Linked DNA regions of Homo sapiens: all the other regions are linked to region 3. Evidence: promoter capture Hi-C in 16 types of primary human blood cells and fetal thymus (Javierre and others, 2016). All regions are on one chromosome and are shown on one strand. The core of a region is centred on a gene start or on the middle of the fragment in contact, and the rest is flanking DNA. Distances in the headings are between cores, read along the strand shown.

Region 1 (2,700 bases), core at 187-2,686, 3.7 Mb before region 3:
AAAGCAAAGGTCTGGCAATAATGCAGCCAGTAATGACTGAAGAAAATGGTGTTTTCTAAACATGAGGCTTAAATTCCATGTAGGTCATTTACAACTGTGAAGAGCCACCCAAAAAAGGTGGTAGTCAAGGTTGTCTCGTAACAATTTAAAACAGAACATACCAGAATGTAGCAACCAAGCAAGATGCTTTGGGCCTGGGCTCTGGTCATATGGTATTGATCGTACCAGCATTCCAGCTCCAACCATGGCTGCAAAGGTCACACCAATTGTCTGAAAGACAAGTACTATTAAGAAAAACTGATCTTTATATGAAAACAAAGCAGAAACCCACAGGTTTGAAGTACAATTAGTTACTTCTAATAAACTAGTTGTAAAAATATTAAAGATAATAAATCAAAGCTTAAGGCCAGGCGTGGTGGCTCACGCCTGCAATCCCAGCACTTTGGGAGGCTGGGGCAGGTGGATCACCTGAGGTCAGAAGTTTGAGACCAGCCTGGCTAACTGGTGAAACCCTGTCTCTACTACAAATACAAAAATTAGCCAGGCGCAGTGGTGCGCGCCTGTAGTCCCAGCTACTTGGGAGGCTGAGTGAGGTGGGAAAATCACTTGAACCCGGGAGGTGGAGGTTGCAATGAGGCAAGATCGTGCCACTGCACTCTAGCCTGGGTGACAGAGCGAGACTCCATCTCAAAATAAAAAAATAAAAAATAAAAAATAAAAAATAAAAACTTTAATTTTTCTGGCACATTAAAAGCTCTGGGTTTATTTCAGAGTTTTGGCTAAGTTAGCACGAGTGCCCCCTACTGCCATATATGAGGTTTTGCAGACAGCTTCAAATGCATGTCTTAAGCTTGAACTGGCAACACATCTTTTAACAATTTTACTCTTGTTGGACAGAGGTGAAACAAAAACCCTTTAGGGATCCCAAGATAATTAACTCTTAATTAAAAAATATATTTTTGTATAGCACAAATAGCATTTTCTTTAAAATCAGTGATGCTTACAAATTAGTAATTTTTAAAAAAAATATATATAGCACATCACTTTGAACTCCATATTTGCTAAATGAAGACTTGAAAAATAGAAAGTAGATTATCACAGCACATGGAAAAGAAAAATGAGAAATAAGATTCTACACTTCTACCCTTCCAGGTTTATGGCTAATTTGGTCCTCATTCCTTTTCTTTGCCTATCTTAGATTTCCAGTGTTATAATTAAATATTGCTTGTGTATGACAAGAAGAATGTATTAACATGTAATGGAAATAAGATGGTGCTAATCTCCAAGAAATTTAAATCAGAGATTGCAAACTTGTAGCCCTTGGAATCAGGCCACAGATGTTTTGTTTGGCAAACTATGTTTAAAAAAACAAACAAAAAAAAAGAACATGGTGAATGGTTTTAGTTGAAAAGGTTAACTCTAGATGTCAGTAACCTCTAGATGTCAACAATCTCCTGTGTGACACACTAGGCCTCCTCACTCATCTGTATTATCTGTCTCACCTATGAACATCAAAATATTCAACCTCTAATATAAAGTACAGGTAAACCAAATAGCTGGTTTTGCCAAGAATGGGAAAACCTTAACATGAAAAAGCATACTGAGCTGGGTGTAGTGGTATGGACCTGTAATGTCAGTTACTTGGGTGGCTGAGGTGAAAGGACCACTTGAGCCTGGGAATTTAAGCCAAGCCTAGGCAAACATAGAGATCTAGTCTCTATTTTTAAAAAACATTAAAAAGAAAAGAAAAGCATATCGAGCTCCACTCCACCATTTTCTAACGAGAAATAATTACTACAAACTATTTCACACATCCTCTGTGGACAGCAGCAATTAAATTTTTTTAAGATCTTCTATGATCCAGTCTCACTCCAAACTCTGCATTCCAACCATACGGAACTGGCACAGCTGCCAACATGCCCCAAAATTTCAGGCCTCCTTAATTCAATCCATCATGCCTAAGAATATCTCCTTCCATATCTGGTCGACTTACTCTGGTACTGTCTCATCTCAAAAGCTTTTTCTAGTAGGTACCCTGGCTGCCCAAGAGCAAGATCAGATACCTCTCCTCAGATGCACTTGGGACAAACTTTGACATTATCTGTGTGTCTATGTGTGTGTTTGTATATATATGTCTGTCACACCCAAAAGGTTACATCTTCATCTCTGTAACACTTGTCTTTGGCTTTCCTATTTTCTGTATTACTAACAGTGGAAGAGGGTAATCTTTTGCCCAGAAGGGACTGAGGATATGGCCCAAACACAAAACTTCTTTGAAGCCTCATTTTAGGGCCTAAAATTTTAGGTAAATATTGTCATGTTTATTACAAAAGTATTGTTTTAAATTATTTGCTTCTGATTAAAACTGACATCCCCAGTGAAACATTCTGTGCCTTTGTGAACCTCTGGGCTGGGAGATTCATGACGTCTATGTGAAAAAGCATGATCCTAAGAATATATAAATATCCAAATGGCTGCTACTGTAAATGGTTATCCTTTAGTAAAGTACAACACAGTGAAAATAATATGGTTTTCGTCCCTATGTGGGGAATCAGTGTTACATGAACTCTCCTTCCCCTCCAGTATCACACTCTGCTCTAGTTCAGGTTCTTATCATCCCTCATTTCAGATCTTACAAAGGCACAGCTGGTACACCTGCTCCATGTCTCTTCCACATTGGTTCTAAAAACTCAAATATAA
Region 2 (2,700 bases), core at 94-2,593, 3.9 Mb before region 3:
ACAAGCCATACCATACTACTCCTAAAATGAGGAAAATATACCTGAGAAAAAATTTTAAATAAGGAAAAGAAACAAAACAAAACAGAAAGATGGCCATCCCTGCCTCCCCACCCCGAAAAGAAATATCACCTGGATGTTTCCTATAAAGTGGCCTACCAACTCTGACCAAAATATCATCAAGTCCATTCTACAGACTTAAATAGCTATTATGAATAGTCCCTGTTTTTCTAAGCTAAGATCTTCAGAGAAAATTATTATATAACTCCCAACCCTAACACTGGCTGCCAAGAGATAATGGTCAGAGAAAGCTCTCAAATTGCCCTAAAGCACTCAGGCTGCAACGAAATATCATTAATATGATGACAACAACAATTCAAAGTACCTTCTGGTATCTGTCTTGCTTCTTTGTCCCTAGCGTATTCACTAGGGCCTTCGTCATCAAAGGTTTTGCAATCTTGACATGGGGGCAGTGTTGGGGAGGAGGGTAGGCAACTCAAAAAAACAGGACTGGAATTTAATTTTGCATTTTAAAGAAAAGCAGGGCCAGTTGTGGTGGCTCACACCTGTAATCCCAGCACTTTGGGAGGTAAAAGCAGGAGGGTCATTTGAGCCCAGGAGTTTCAGCCCAGCCTGGGTAACATGGGGAGACCCTGTCTCTATGGAAAATTTTTAAAATTAGCCAGGCATGGTGGTACATGCCTGTAGTCCCAGCTACAGGTTGAGTACAGGTTGGGAAGCCAAGGCAGGAGGATAGCTAGAGCCCAGGAGGTCAAGGCTGCAGTGAGCCATGATGACACCACTGCACTCCAGCCTGGGTCCAGAGACCCTGTCTCAAAAAAAAAAAAAAAAAAAAAAAGAGAGAGAGAGAAGTAGAATGCTGGGGAACAGAAAACACTTGCTCAGATACAAGATGTCACTGGGCTTTTCAATACCAGGCACCAAAAGAGAGATCACAGAAGGACCAAAACCCTGAGATGCCCATCGTTCCTCAGCTAAAGAGCCATGCCTTGCATTTCTATTCTCACACACAGAACTCAAGATACAGGGTAGGAGACCATGCCAAAGTGAACAGCTGGGAGCAGCGATGGCAGGGAGGAGAGCAGTAACAACTACCATAACAAAGGGAAGGAAGGAGTAATCCCTCATGCTTTTTCTCTTTTCCCTTTCCCACTGTCCTTATCAAGGACAGAAACAGGGTAGATGAAAACAGGAGAAGGCAGAGAACAGAGGGTAAGGATGGCCTGAAGCAAATGGTTGTAGAAAAAAATCAATAGCAAATTCCTTTACCAAGTAACTCTTTGAAAAACAGACATATGAAGTAAGTTAGGAGCTGACCAAGAAAATTTAAAACAAGCCCCTGTCTTACGTAGCTATAAAGTACAAAGAAAACAGAGATTCTTAATTATTTGGAATAATCTGTGGCATTTTTAAGACCAACAGTCTTCAAAGATGATCCAACTATACTGAAACTAAGCTACTGATCAACTTGAAAAAATAAACAGGTAAAAAACTTCAGTGCTCATGGATCCAACCTTTAAGAATCCTCTGGCTTCCCAATGGCTCCAAACCTTAATATAATCAACCAGAAGTCTTTAAAGGTAGAGAAGTAACTCTAGGACATTCCAAACCAATCAACTCATCAGAGAAGAGCTAAAAACTCAGAAATTACATCTCACATACTATGATTGGTCAATTCACTTAAAAAGAAAGGACTGTTCTCATTGGTTGATCTCAATAGGCTGAATCACACCCCAGCATCAGCACCTGTAGCAAGCAGAAGTCAGAAGCCAAAGAGGCAGAAAGCCATCAGATACTCAGAGAAAACTTAAGTAGTCAATAACAACGGAAAGACAAGTTCACCCTATACAACCACAATCAGCTTATGACAGCAGGGCACACCAACCACAACTGTTTGTAGCCTGAGGTGGCAGCATTCTACATGCTCATGTCTGTGCTAATACTTCCCTACCCCTCTGCCTCCTCCCTGATGGCTCTTCCCCCATCCTCCCTGACAGCTGTCACATTCTAGAGCTACTCTTCCTCCACCCACTCTTTCATTTTGGTAATTTGGTGTTTCCCAGTTCAGTCTCTTGACCTTTCTGTATTATTTCATCCTATATTCACTCATTCCTCTACTCAGTCCCTATCTTTGACAAGCACACAATCCAGTGGGGGAGACAGATATGTTACTAGAATAGGTACAATACATCACAGTCAACGCTGTGAAAGAAATATAACAAAGTGCTGTGAGCACATATTCATCTGTCATTACCCCACTCAATGTCTTCCAAATCAATACACTGCCTTCCCACTCTGTTGTGTATCAGTTACTAATTCCTATATATTTCCAAAATATCCCGATCTCCACTTCCACCTCAAGGTTTAGCCTTCATTTCTCACATGAATATTTCAACCACTTCCTATTATAAACATAATTCAATATATAGCCACATTGTCACATGAGCAATCTCCCTAAAAGAGATAACATACCATATCATCCCCTTGCTTTGCAACACCTAATCTTTCCAATGTCTAAGAAATGAAGTCCAAATCCTTGGCATGGATAATAAGATAATACTTTTGAAATAGCATCTTTTAAAAGCAGGCTGACTGAGTTCCAGTTCCAATGCTTACTACCTATGTTATCCTTGGCAGGTCACAGTCTCTATATTTTCATATCCACAAAATGAGGATACTAAA
Region 3 (2,700 bases), core at 188-2,687:
TATGGTGGAGTCTGGGCTTCATTCTGGGGGTGCCAGGGCCCAGGAAGATCCCTGGAAAGACGGCCGCCCCCACCAACCACTCGGCTAGCTGAAATGTGGCAAGGACATAGGGGTGCTCCGATGGCCTGTCCCCAGGTTTCCCTTCACAAATAGAGAAGGGTGGCCGGAGCACTCAGCAGGCACTAACTGCTTCTGGACTTCAAGGTCAAGGGGCAAGGGGAAGGCTACTTTTGAGGATTTGGCAGGCCACTCTCTCACTAGCCCAAGAGCAACTCCCTCTCGGAAGGGAGGAAGATCCCCTGGAGAGCAGACCACTGCCAAGAGCACACCTGCAGAGGCTCCAATACAATGCTCTGCACAGCCGCCCAGCACCGCCTGACCTCCCGGATAGCAGCGCCAGCACAGCCAACGAGTGTGTGACACCGCCGCACTCACCACCGCTCTGCGCCCAGCCCCAGGCCAGTACCCGGGCCCACGACTTCCCCCGACTCCCCCTAGCACGGACTGTTTCTCGCCGGAGATCAACTTTAAGTCCCCAAGACAAGTGCTCCTGCGGTCCCAGGGCCAAAGTCCCTCCACACACCCTCACACAGGCACTTCCTACCCACCCGCACCCCACCCCTGGGGGTGGAGGAGAAGCAGCAGCGGCCCGGGACAAGCACAGTCCGCAGCCACAAACCTCACTCTACCAGAACTCCGGCTAGGTCAGGGGTCAGGCTTTGCTCCCAAACACAACCCCACACGACTAACGCGGAGAAGCTGGGTCACCGCCTACTCAAACTCCGGCCGTCCCAAACCCAAGCCGGGCAGAGTGGGACCCACGGCGGCGTGGGAGACTGAGCACAACCACGGCGGGGCAGGAGGAAGGGGCGGCCCGCCCCGGCCTACGCCCACCCCCACCCCGGACCCGATCTCCTGGGAGCCGAGGGTGGGTGACTGAGCCGAAAGGGTGGCCCATCCCCGAGCTCGCTGCTGGGGACGAGAAGCAGAGCCCCGAGCAGCAGCGGCCGTCCAGGCTCCCGTCGCCCTCACCCCGCCCGGCACGGGCGCGCACTCGCCGGGGCGCGCTGATGGGGCGAGGGCTACCGAACCAGGAGTGCCGGCCCCGGGCCCGCCGCGGCTCTCGTCCGCGCGGCGCCGGAGTTCGGCTCAGCGGGGTCCCGGCGGAGGCCTCCAACCTCTAGCGAGCAATCCTGGCAGACAAAGCCAGCGCCGCCCGCGGGGCCGCTCCTGGGCAGGCGGGGAGGGAGGCTGAGGGGCCAAACAGGGACCTAAGGAGCAGCCCTCGCCCCCGGAGAACGCTCGGGGAAGTCGGCCTCAGACAAAGAAAGGGGCAGGGCCCGACGCCCCAGCCAGGTCTCCGCGCTCTACTCACCCGCGCGCGGCGGCGGCAGCGGCGGCGCGGCCCGGCTCGGCCGAGGAAGTTAGAGCAAGTTCCGCGGCGCGGGGCGGGAGGGCGCGACTCGGGCCGTCCGAGCGGCGGGGGCGGGGCGCGGAGGGGCGCGGAGGGGCGGGGCCGGAGGCGCGGCGCCTGCCGTCTGCCGAGGAAGGGGCGCCGCTTCCCTGCGCCGCCCGGTGCGGCCCCGGGCGCCTGGGCCCGCCCTGGCCCCGCCCCTCCCCCAGCCGCCTCGCCCCTCCCCCACCGCACCCCGCCTCCCGGCCCGCGCGGCACCGGGGACCGCGAGGCCGGGTCGCCGGCCCGCCCCTTTGTCCCGCTCTGGGCGGTGCCGGAGGCTTGGGGCGGCCCCGGTCCGCGCCCTCCCAGTGGGTGCGCGGCGCAGGCCGGGCCTGGCCCGGGGCCGGGCACTTGTAGCCGCCGGGAGCGCTCTGAGCCGTTGCGCTGCGCAGACGCCGCTCTGGCCTTGTCGGAGCCGAACCTGGGAGAAGCACGAGCTGTGGGAGGCGGCGTCTCGAGGGATACACGGGATGACCGTGGAGAGCGGGCGAAGGATTAGGAAAATGGCTGTGGTGGAGATAAGAGGCGTTCCTGCCCGGCTTTGGAGCCTGGGGGCGGGGGTAGTCTTCAATCAAAAGAAGGATGGGGAAAAGGTTTTTATTTCTTTGTAAACCAAGGAGTAAGGACACGCTCCTTCTGGCCTTGGTGCTAAAAATACCAAGCTTTCTTTGGATCGTGGCTGAGATTTCTTCCTAACCTTTACGCTAAAGAGGTGGCTGGGACGATTCTTGTGGTGTAGGGGGGTTTCCAGGGACAGCCAGGGGTGGCGCCCCTCTTTGGATCGTGGCTGAGATTTGTTCCTCACCTTTACGCTAAAGAGATGGCTGGGACGATTCCTGTGGGGTAGAGGGGTTTCCAGGGATAGCCAGGGGCGGCTCCCCAGCCTCAGCCTCCCTACCTGTAGAATGAAGCATGCCACACCTCTGTTTCTTAAACTTATTCGGTGGCTGAGGGCCGAGTGGTCTTCTCTGTTGAGTAACACCAAACAGGGATCTATTAAAACTGGGCTAAGACTGGTTGCCACATGCCAGTACAAGCAACCAACAGGTTAATTCCAATGGAAGGAGGAAATCTTGAAATGGAGACTGTTCAGTCCATTCCCAGGTTTGTTTGGGTTGTTTTTTGAGCTAAGGTATCGCTTTGTCACCCAGGCTGGAGTGCAGTGGCATGACCATGGCTCACTGCAGCCTCGACCTCCCGCCTCAGCTTCCCCAAGTAGCTGGGACCACAGGTGCAGGCCACCA

What was found. The method cuts DNA at HindIII sites, captures the fragments that hold promoters and counts their contacts. A CHiCAGO score of 5 or more calls a contact.
Region 1: a fragment that was not itself captured here is called in contact with the fragment with the promoter of TSPAN14 in region 3 in 3 of 17 cell types (naive B cells, total CD8 T cells and naive CD8 T cells); the score reaches 6.2 in naive B cells.
Region 2: a fragment that was not itself captured here is called in contact with the fragment with the promoter of TSPAN14 in region 3 in 2 of 17 cell types (total CD8 T cells and activated CD4 T cells); the score reaches 5.6 in total CD8 T cells.

Annotation. Positions count from the first base shown.
Region 1 is chr10:84,146,300-84,148,999 of GRCh38, reverse strand. GHITM (growth hormone inducible transmembrane protein) reads right to left here. Exons shown (of 9, transcript NM_014394.3): 6 at 162-270. Among named protein-coding and RNA genes, the nearest start is that of GHITM, 8.1 kb to the right of the region's middle. The HindIII fragment of the contact is 1,167 bases long and covers 853-2,019 here.
Region 2 is chr10:84,333,385-84,336,084 of GRCh38, reverse strand. The region is part of intron 1 of CCSER2 (coiled-coil serine rich protein 2); the gene reads right to left. Among named protein-coding and RNA genes, the nearest start is that of CCSER2, 6.1 kb to the right of the region's middle. RefSeq lists an enhancer at 2,079-2,128. The HindIII fragment of the contact is 3,683 bases long and covers 1-2,700 here.
Region 3 is chr10:80,453,047-80,455,746 of GRCh38, reverse strand. It overlaps TSPAN14 (tetraspanin 14), which reads right to left and starts at 1,437. Exons shown (of 9, transcript NM_030927.4): 1 at 1,376-1,437. RefSeq lists enhancers at 322-371, 402-661, 611-1,128, 1,872-2,081 and a silencer at 792-1,841. The HindIII fragment of the contact is 5,289 bases long and covers 1-2,120 here.